2 separate regions of the Homo sapiens genome follow, and region 1 is linked to region 2. Evidence: promoter capture Hi-C in human tissues and cell types (Jung and others, 2019). All regions are on one chromosome and are shown on one strand. Each heading gives the region's core, a stretch centred on a gene start or on the middle of the fragment in contact. The rest is flanking DNA. Distances are from core to core; before and after follow the strand shown. Region 1 overlaps LINC00544 (long intergenic non-protein coding RNA 544). Region 2 holds the start of ALOX5AP (arachidonate 5-lipoxygenase activating protein).

Region 1 (7,095 bases), core at 1,460-3,959, 790 kb after region 2:
AGTCTGTCTCCTGCATTTTTATGCTGGGCACTTTTCATTAGATAAGTAAGTATATGTCAGAAAAACGTGAAAAAAAACCCATCTGTGTCTATAACTAATTAAAAAGATGTGTGATCAACAAACACCCTCTTCTCCTACAACCAGGGAACAAACAGCTCATTACTTTCCTTAAAAGCCATCCTGGAAACCTTTCCCGGGGAAAATGCGCTGAGCATTGATTATCTATCTACACCCATCATAGCCACACGGCACATTATTCCATTTGTTGGGAGACCTTACTTTACCGGTTGCAGACCAAGTTTCCAGAGTAGAAAGCATGGTCTTAGTCTCACCCCAACTAATGGTTCTTCAGAGGTCTCCCAAAACTCCTGCCGCCTCTTCTGCACGTTAATGAAAATAAATGGCACCAATCTCAATGTTCTTTGCCTCAGACCAAATGGGGCCAGGAGCTTAGAAGCAAGAAGCTGAGGCATCAGCAGGGTACTCCCAGGACAGGGCTTCCTTTGGCTGTGATCATTACGTGATTCCCTGACAGGCTGCTGTTTTCGTCGACGGTGTCCGTAACTCACTGACTGAAATCTTTGACCTCTGTAGTACAGATGGGATCCATTTGCTGCCAGTAATGATGTGTGACCTCTTGGTGAAGGCAGGGGAAGAAAAGAAGCTGAAGAGATCTTCAATATTTTTGAGAATGCATTACAGGGATTCAAGAGTGTCAAAAAGAGACATGGGTGATGAGGAAAGGAATAAACTACTCGCTTTTTTTTTTTTTTTTTTTTTTTTTTTTTTTTTTTTTTTGAGACGGAGTCTTGCTCTGTCGCCCAGGCTGGAGTGCAATGTCGTGATCTTGGCTCACTGCAACCTCCACCTCCCAGGTTCAAGCGATTCTCCTGCCTCAGCCTCCCAAGTTGCTGGGACTACAGGCGCCCACCAACACGCCCAGCTAATTTTTGTATTTTTAGTAGAGACGGGGTTTCTCCATGTTGGCCAGGCTGGTCTCGAACTCCTGACTTCAGGTGATCCACCCACCTTGGCTTCCCAAAGTGCTGGGATCACAGGCGTGAGCCACCGCACCTGGCCACTACTACCATCTTTTAACAGAAGTTCAGAGCTTCACACGGGTAGAATCATGTATGGAAAGGATTTGATGAAGATTCAGGGTGGAACATGCCCTGGGGCAGCACACAGTCAGAGCCATAATTCAAGGCCCTTTTCAGCTCATCACCTTATTTCTTTCCTTAAGATTTCCCAAGTGAGGCCTGGCACTGTGGCTCACATCTGTAATCCCAGCATTTTGGGAGGCTGAGGTGGGCAGATCGCTTGAGCCCAGAGTTCCAGACCAGCCTGGGCAACATGGTGAAACCCCATCTCTGCAAAAAGCACAAAAATCAGCCGGGCGCGGTGGCACAAGCCTGTAGTCCCAGCTACCTGAAAGGGTGAGGTGGGAGGATCACTTGAGCCTGGCAAGCTGAGGCTGCAGTAAGCCGTGAGCATGTCACTGCACTCCAGCCTGGGTGACAGAGTGAGACCCTGTCTTAAAAAAAAGAAAAGATTTCCCAAGTGAGGGCCCAGCTCTTCTCCAGCACTTCTCAAGGCACCGACCACCAGCCAAGGGCACCCTCTCCCTCCTTCATCGCTGAATGCTCCTGGTCAGCCAGAAGGAGGGGTGTGAAGGCCTCAGCAGGTTGATGCCTGCACCGCCTCCTTCACAGGCTCACAGAGAAAGCCCCTGCTCTTCAGACTGGGGAAGCATCTTCGTTCCTCTTTATTCATCTTCCCAGTACCCACAGAGACTAGCAGAGTGTACTGTACAAAGAGGGTAACAGATATTTGTAGAATATTCCTTGAAGAAATGAATGGAGAAACATCGACAGGGTATGGTTCTAATACGCTCACATTGACCTCTTCCACCAGGTTTGAAGATATTATTTCCCTTTCCTCTCAGTCCCAGTGGTCCTGAGGCCCAGGTTGGAGCCACTGTTCTCTCACCCACCTGAAAGCTGACTCATCAACTTCCCTGGATCCCAGACATGGATTTTCCCTGAAACCAACTCTTCCTGTCTTGGGAAGCCGGCTCAGGTCAGTGCCTGACCGTTTCCTGGGAGAGGCTCTGGTAAGGCCAGCCTCGGCCTTTCCTTCATCTACTTCTGCTCCGAGAAAGTTCCTCATTCTTTTTTCTCTTTAGACATTACGTTATTTTTCCTGCTAAGTGTTACGGTAACACATAGTAATCATAGAAAATTTGCAAAATAAAAGAAAGTATAAAGAAACAAACCAACGAAACCCCCCAATGATTTCTAAAGGGCCTGTGTTTCTAGTCCTTGCTCCATTCGGGTCCCCTCCTTTCTTCTGCAAACTTCCTGCTTGTAATCCTCTTTGTGGGAGGACTCTCACATTAGCATTTCAGGTCTCTTTATCTTTGGAGCCAAATATTAGCATAAGAATTAGCATATTATAACCCAATTACTTTTCAGTTACAAACAATCTCAACCAGATTGGGGTTATTCTTAATTTGCATAGTTTTGACAAGGGGGTGAGAGATGCAATGGGAAACTGTGGTGTTCTCAAGTAAACATAACAAAGGTTTGCTTTGGAGATGAATGTGGCTTGGAAACAAATAAAAAGATAAGACATAATGAGAGGATGTGGAGGCTTCTGCGATGGGTGAGTGCTGTTCTGCCCAGAGAACCATGGAATAAATGATTTCTCACCATCCCTTCCAGCCTCTTATAATGTAACATGGTTTCAGGAAAATAATAGGGCTTATCGAGAGAGTTCTCTCATAGCAGAACAGGCCAGCTGCCAGTTCCCTGTAGGTCTTCATGAAGTTTACCCAGGATCCCTGTCAAGGGAGACAGTGAAGAACTTCAGGATACTTCAGGAGACTCTCCATCCCCATCTTCCCAGGAAGCTGGGTGTCTCCCAGGACAATGCATCTAAATACCTACATAGATGGGCATCAGTGAGCTAACACATGCTTGGTCAGTGTAAGAGAATAACCAAATTGCCACTATTCCAGAATAGGCGTGCTATCTAATTACCATAAGATCCCAAGAATCTATTGCAGATCTACCATATGGACAGAGCTGTACTAGGTAGGTACAGCCTAGTTAGTGAATGCTTCTTAGGATCAGTATGAAAATGAGACCAAGAGAACTCTTATTGAGGGATCTGAATCAGATATAAACAGCAGGATCACTAGATTTTCTCGGAGAGGGCAAAGTGGACTTTCTAGTGTTATGCAAATGTTGGATATCTACAAGCTTTCACCCCCAGACTCCACAAAGCATGAGTGAGCACTGTAGATTTCACTAAACACTATGTTAGGGAGATGGAGACGAAGTTACAGAGCACAACACATGGTATTTCACTGTAAAATTTCTTATTAGACATCTCTTTCCTAGTCTTTGTTCTCAGCATTAAACATTTTCTCTTTATTTAACAACCTTTCATTGGTTTCAACCTCTGGTCCTGCACTGTACTGAGAGCTTCTGAGGTTGTGCGGAGCCAGGCACATGCCTGGGTGGGTGCAACCCCAATGACCAAGGAGCTGGCCAAGCTGGTTGAGGTGAGGAGATACCGACCAGGGAGAAAGAAGGCAGGACATGGGCAAAGGCAGAGATACCGTACTGGCTGTGGCTGTGCAGTGTCATGCCAGAAGTGACAAAAGATGAGACGTTGCCTGCAACTGTGAGGGAGCTTTGCCTTCATCTGTAGAGACTCAGAAGTTCATCAAAGGACTTATTTACTGGTCTGGTTTCCATCTTTACTTTTGTCTGCCTTGGCCTCCATGTGTTCTGGAAACGTATCAGTGATAACTTCTAGCCAAATACCTGTCACATATTTGAAAGCAATAATGTTTCGTTACTTGAGTTTTCCTCTTTAGCTTCAGTAGTTCTGACTCTTTAGCCTTTCCTCATGGGGCCTCTTTTCCATCATGAGTCCTGCCCTTTTGTTTGTGTCATTCTTCTCTGGATTGTCTCAAGTCTTTCCATGTACTTTGAAAAGTGCAGTAATCCAAATGGCATGTGGCTCCCTATGAGCGGGAAGCATAAGAAAATGACTTCTAGCTTCCCATACAATTTTCTCTTTAATGTGTTGTAGAATTATAATTTGTGCCCCAGAATAACACAATACGGTTGGCATGTTTTCCAGCTTGGAGTGGGTTATAATTTCTAACCATTCCCCCTATTTTTACCAGCTGGTCTCTAGACAGCTTATATGAATCCACATCCATTGATCTTAGTGTGCCAGTTAGCATTACTGTCCAGGGTCCATTTTGTTTTAATCATCTTAGTTTATATTTTACTGTACATCTGCCATAAATCCTGGATTTCTTCCCTTCTACCCACAGAAAAATCTGGTTCTAGAAAATAAGGTGCTGGGTGTCTTCTGAACATAGCTTAAACAATGCATTGTCTGCAAGCCTTAGAAGTAGCTAAAAGGCAAGCTCTGCGGATTATTTACAGGTGACTTATCAGTGTCTCAAATCTAAATTCTGATTATTATGCAATTCCCTCTTTTTAGGCTGTCATCATTTTTCATTACTTAAGGACTATCTCGGCTCTTGGGCCTTCACTAAATTGTTACTGTCAGGATTTGGGGAGTTATTTTGAAACCTATCAGCAGTGGGTGACCTCCTGGCATCCTGATTCAGAGTTTTCCATAATCCCCACTACTACAATTGTTAAATTGTTACCTGTGTAAAGCCTCCTCCTTTTTATAATTGAGTAAAATTAATTTCCTTTCTTCCTGGTGTAAATTTAGTTGATCTCATTTACCCTTTGTTAGGAAATGGTAATGTGTTGATTAAATTAAGGGCTTCACATGGATTTAGAATAGTTTTATGTGGGGAGGAGTTGCCGGGAGATTTTCTCAGAGGCTGATAAATAGCTAAAGAGAAATAGAGAGTTAACAGTGACATGAAGAGAGAAATACAAAGCTTTTTTGAATGTGCAAGCAGCTGTTAGCTTAAGGACATTGGTTACATATGAATTTTAGCTTTGGATTGAGAGTTTTCTAGTGTAAAGTTCAAATGCTGAAGACCTCTGGGAATGGTGCCACCATTTTTCTTCTGTTTAATCCTAACTAGAAAAGGTAGGGGAGGAAATAGTGCATAGGGTTTTTTTTCTTCCCATTAAAACAAAAATTGGTGTAAAAAGGAGTGAAGAGTTATGGAGAAGGCTCAAATCATTATATGCAGGAAGATTTCATTCATTAGAGAGAGTACATTTAATAGAACAGTAACTTTTCTTTTGTTTTCGTGTGTGTGTGTGTGTGTGTGTGTGTGTGTGTGTGTGTGTGTGTCAGAGTTTCGCTCTTGTAGCCCATGCTGGAGGGCAGTGGTGCGATTTCAGCTCACTGCAACCTCCACCTCCTGGGTTCAAGTGATTCTCCTGCCTCAGCTTTCTGAGTAGCTGAGATTACAGGCATGCACCACCACACCTGGCAAGTTTTTGTATTTTTAGTAGAGATGGGGTTTCACTACATTGGGAAGGCTGGTCTCAAACTCCTGACCTCAGGTGATCCGCCTACCTCGGCCTCCCAAAGTGCTGGCATTACAGGCGTGAGCCACCACGCCTAGCCAGAACAGTAACTTTTCAATGAGCTTTCCCAACTGTCTCTCTGGTGATAACCCTGTCGGGGATCCAGGGCAAGTCCTGCCACCCCCATCGTATAGTGGGGGATGAGCTTGGGGTTCCAGAGTGAGGTAGAGGCTGAGCTAGAGGTGAGCCTGTGCACATCTTACTGTCAGCACCACCTTCACCCAGCGCCATCACCAAAGATCACATCAGTAGGATTCAGGATGGAGACCAAAAGAGCCAAGAGAAGGCAGTGAAGACATTGCATAATGCTTATTAGTGAAGGTAACCACTCTTTCAAGGCTATCTGTGTCCTAGTCAAGGCACTGGTGACACACCGAATAACACAGTGGATGCAGCCTGACGTATCCCACTGTGAGTGACACTATGAATGAAGGCTACGCTGAGAAATCTGAAAGGTGCAGTAAAGGAAAAGGGAGAAACTGGCAAGACAAAGGGGAATTCAATCAAGACGTGTAAGTGGCTCTTCAAATTTCATACACCTGACTGACCTAATGGTTAAAAACTCAACGGCTGTGCTTATTCATTTATTCACTGATATTTTAAAACAAAAGTATCTTGAGCACCAGCTGCATGGCAGGTACTGTAGCTGGAGGCAAGAGATCCAGGGAGCATGGACATGGGCCCTGGCTGGAGCATCTTGGAAGGACAGTGGAGGCAACGACCATGTGGGTTGGGACTAAGGTCTTGCCTGGTGACATCTGAGCTCTCCTCAGCCTCCAAGTCCTCTCTCAAAGCCACAGCTTCATCCTTCTGCCCTTACACCTCGCTGATTTGCCTGATACCCTCTCTAAACTCCCCTTGCACTATGCCCTGTGTCACATGCTCCTCTGTGATTTAGTTTTTAATGACTTTCCCTATTCTAGAGCATCCTTCAACACATCCAAAGGGCAGAAACAATGCCTTTTCCCGCACACGAGGCCTCCTCCATGGTGGGGAGTTTGTGCATATTTTCATTTTTTGCCAACTCATCGTCACAGATCAATCTCCCTCTTATTCATGTGTCCCTTACAATTTTAGTAGATCCTCACATCCCTAAGCTTGGATCCTTTCCTTTCAGAGGCTTTGCATACCGCATTTCCCTAACAACTCTATAACCACGGGGTGCTTCTAGGAGTTTTGGTCTTCCCTTTTTGAGGCTTGGCCAAGATCATAAACCAGACCTAAGGGTGCCCACCTCTGTCAGGTGAAGAGGACACAGCAAAGCCACCTAAAATTGTCTCCTCCACTGGTTTTTCACATTATCTGAACCTCCACTATCATATTTACTCTTGTCACAGTCACTGTGTGAGAAAAATAATTTTTTTAAGAGTGGAAATGAGAAGATGAAAAGGGAAAAGGAAAGCATCACAATGCCACCCTTTGAGCCAAGAACTTTATTTAATTTTTTCCATGTCATATGGAATTGTACGTAGTTTCAGGTTTTCTTTTAAAAGCCTTTTGGCTCTTGAGTCAGGCTAGAATCCTAGATATGAATCCCACCTCTGCTCAT
Region 2 (3,600 bases), core at 438-2,937:
AGAGAGTGAGCTCAAACTTCGTAGCTGGGTTCAGCCCCAACTGCACAGGCAGGGAGGGGGCACAAGGTCCCCTGTCCACCGATGCTCCTCAGTTTTATTGATGGGTGTCAGGGGAGAGGCCAGAGGGGAGATCCTTCCAGAGCTGAATAAGTGCTAGCCACCTGCCCACCCATACAGCTACCTTTGCAGAGACTGCAGGCATTGCTGCAGGCTGACCTGTCCATCACTGTAGCTGTTTTGTTTCCTGCTCTATCCGCCTGTACCCAGAATACTATCTGGGCCAGAGCAGGGTCTCTGTACATGTATGCGGGTTGAATAATGGAATCCTTGCCAATTTACAGGGCCAAGGGAGCCCTGTGTGAAATCATAATGGCTCAAGAAAATGGTGGCCTAAATAAGCCATTTGTTCCCTCTCTGAGCTACAACTTTGTTGTGTGTAATTTAGTATAAAAATGTTTGGGTCAGAAAGCCACAAAGTGTAGTTCTTGTAGAAAACATACTTGGAGTGTGTGAAGCTGAGCCTTTCTGGTGCAGAGGCTGAGGGGGAGGCTTGCTCTGTGCCCAGAAGGCTACATCACCAGCATCTGTCCACACTCAAGATGGGGGAAAATAGAATATCCCAAAGTGATTAAATACTCAAAGTTCCAAAAACGTGACAGCATGTCAATGTTCAGTAATCACCATAAAGCTACAGCAGCTGCCCTTAGTAATTACTCTTTTTTTCTCTATCTTAATAAATATAAAACACAAAGCCACTGGAGATAGTTATGAAAGTGGTCTGAGGCAGCCCTAACTCAGAACTTTAGGAAGACAGCTCTACACAATTCTCCCTTTTCCAGATCTAGGTATCCTGCTTGTTTTTTGTTGTTGTTGTTGTTTTTAACTAATAGCAGGAATAATGGAAATGCAAACGCTGAACAGGACAATTTTCCTCTCTCTCTCTCTCTTTCTGAAGTATACACTGCATATGAAAAATGCTTCCAAAATTATACGTGCTAGAGAAAAAGAAGGTATCACCAAAAAAAAAAGTTTCTTCAGGAGAAAAAAAGAAAAAAGTAATATAGAGGAAAAATAATAAGATGATTTTTTCTACGCACCTCCCAAAATCACTTTCTTTTTAGACTGCAGATGACTGGTAACTTCAATTGCACTGCAGATGTTAGAAAAGCCCAGTATCTGAGTAAATGTGTATATCATGTTCCCTTTCTAGTCTTCTCACCTTCCACCCCTTGCCTGGCCACATTAATTAATAGTTAAAATGCTGATCATAGACACTTCGGTGAGGGTTTTAGCAAAACCTTCAAGTTGCAGCCCTGGCTCTAAAAATGGGACTGGTAATCACCACAAAAGTGAAAGACTAAGAGGAGGAAAACCCCAAATTTACACAGAAATACACACAACCCTATACATTCAAATAAAAAGAAGAAAATAAAGATAAGGTAAAAGTGTTTGTGCATGCGCACACACAGACACAATTGTTTAAGCCTGACTTCCAAACAACCATCAAAGAAAATCTCCCCTTCTGTTCTTCCCTGAGTGAAGGGCTTTCCTTACCATTCTGGACCACGCTGATGAGGGTGACGATGGCCAACAGGACAACATTGCCTACAGTTTCTTGATCCATGTTTGCTTCAGGCTCCCCAGAGAGGACTGCTCTGCCTCCAGCTGCACAACCTGCCCTGTACAGGAAGGGGAAGTGAGAGCTTGCACTCTTTCATCATTACAATTTCTGAAGATCCCCGGCACAATTACACAGTGCCTTCTTCTTCCTTTTTTTTTTTTTTTTTTTTTTTTTAACTAACCACCAAAATGCCCTGGCTGTGGTTCAGTGTGTCCCACCAGGAGAAGCAGGGCTTGGCAGAGGAGCACGCAAAGCCAGCACACTCTCCTACATTTCCTTGTCATGGGAAACTTCCCTGAGAGTCTCCAGAATGAATCCTGGACCCAAGACCATGACCAGCACGAGCCCAGCACAGGCACCAGAGAATCTGGAAGCTGCCATCATCTCTGACTTCAGCAAAGAGAAAGAAGGGAAAGTAAACCCAAAACTTTCAGGTCAGACAGAGTGGCATAAACCTGTAACCCCAGCATTTTGGGTGGCTGAGGTGGGAAGATTGCTTGGGCCCAGGACTTTGAGGCTACAGTGAGCCAATGATTATGCCACTGCACTCCAGCCTGGGCAACAGAGCAAGACTGTCTCACACACACACACACACGCACACACAAATGTAAAATGAAACTTTAAAAAAATGTATAGAACACCAAAAGATCTGTGCCCCAAATACTGTCCTTCTTTTTTTGAATTCCAAGAAAAAAAGTGAACACTTAACACACGGTAAGTAGCAGCCACATAAGGTTTGAATGAAGGAAGGAATAAATGGCAGTGGGGAGGGACAGCTGATATCTCCATTTCTTCAGAGAAAAGTAATAAAGGGAATTCATAAATTAAACCAAAGAATTCAAACCAAACCAAAGAATTCAGGTAAAAGGCAGAAATGGAGTTACAGATGATCCCTAAGGGAAATTCCCAAAGGGAACTGACTTTTCTGAGGCAATCGCAGAAACACCTTCCTGGAAATTCTTTTCAACTGAATAAGAGTAGAGTGGCTGTGCTTTCTGAGAAAGTATAAGAGTGGACCTGCTGGGTGGGTGAGGTGGCTGCCTGGTATTCTGCAGCTCAGATCAGTGTGAATGGCAATCCCTCTGAGGTTACATGGAAAATGCAAAATACCTGCAATCTTTGTCCCAGACTTAGCTATTTGGCATTGGTTAAGAGGTGCTTTTATCAAAACTTCACTTTGAAAGGGAACATGGACCACTGTAACTAGTGGCAGCAGGGAGGGCTGCATCTCGGCACGGAAGAGGTCAGTGTAGGGGAAGATATTGCTCCCTCATAGGTACAGTGCCAGAGGCCCGCTTCAATGCCCTCGGTTCAGCTGAGAGAGAAAGGCTGATGAAGGCAGCGTGCAGAGTTGTGTGCGGGGAAGCCAGCAGCCAGGGCTGTCGGGCTGGTCATGACACACTTGGGTACTCCCTGAGTACCTAGGGCACTTTGTAGAGTATAGACTTTATATTAGCCAAGGCTCTCCAGAGAAACTGAACCAATATATAAATAAGTCTCCTCATATATATATATTGCAGATTTATAATAGAAATTGGTTCACATGCTCATGGACACCATGAAGTTTCATGGTTTGCCATCTGCAAGCTGGAGACTCAGAAAAGCTGCTGGTGGAGACCAGTCTGCATTCAAAGGCCTGAGCATCAAGGAGGGCAATGGTGCAAGACCCAGTCTGAATCCAAAAGCTGGAGAACAAGGGGCTCCAGTGTCCAAGGGCAGGAGAAGATGGAGGGCAATGGTGCAAGACCCAGTCTGAATCCAAAAGCTGGAGAACAAGGGGCTCCAGTGTCCAAGGGCAGGAGAAGATGGATGGCCCAGCTCAAGAAGAAGAGGGAATTTGCCCTTCTGCCCGCTTTTTGTTCTATTCAGGCCCTCAGTGGATTGATGACACCCACCATATTGGTGAGGGTGGGAATTCTTTACTTAGTCCGCTGATTCCAGTGCTGATCTCTTTCAGAAACACCCTCCCTAACACACCC

What was found. The method cuts DNA at HindIII sites, captures the fragments that hold promoters and counts their contacts. A contact is called where the count stands out against the background at its distance.
Region 1: a fragment that was not itself captured here is called in contact with the fragment with the promoter of ALOX5AP in region 2 in 1 of the 25 tissues and cell types used here (dorsolateral prefrontal cortex).

What each region holds. Positions count from the first base shown.
Region 1 is chr13:29,938,835-29,945,929 of GRCh38, reverse strand. The region is part of intron 3 of LINC00544 (long intergenic non-protein coding RNA 544); the gene reads right to left. Among named protein-coding and RNA genes, the nearest start is that of LINC00544, 5.9 kb to the right of the region's middle. The HindIII fragment of the contact is 6,169 bases long and covers 1-5,793 here.
Region 2 is chr13:30,733,630-30,737,229 of GRCh38, reverse strand. It overlaps ALOX5AP (arachidonate 5-lipoxygenase activating protein), which reads right to left and starts at 1,687. Exons shown (of 5, transcript NM_001629.4): 1 at 1,555-1,687. The coding sequence starts at 1,624. All of the region lies in intron 2 of LOC124903146 (a long non-coding RNA gene), which reads left to right. The HindIII fragment of the contact is 13,431 bases long and covers 1-3,600 here.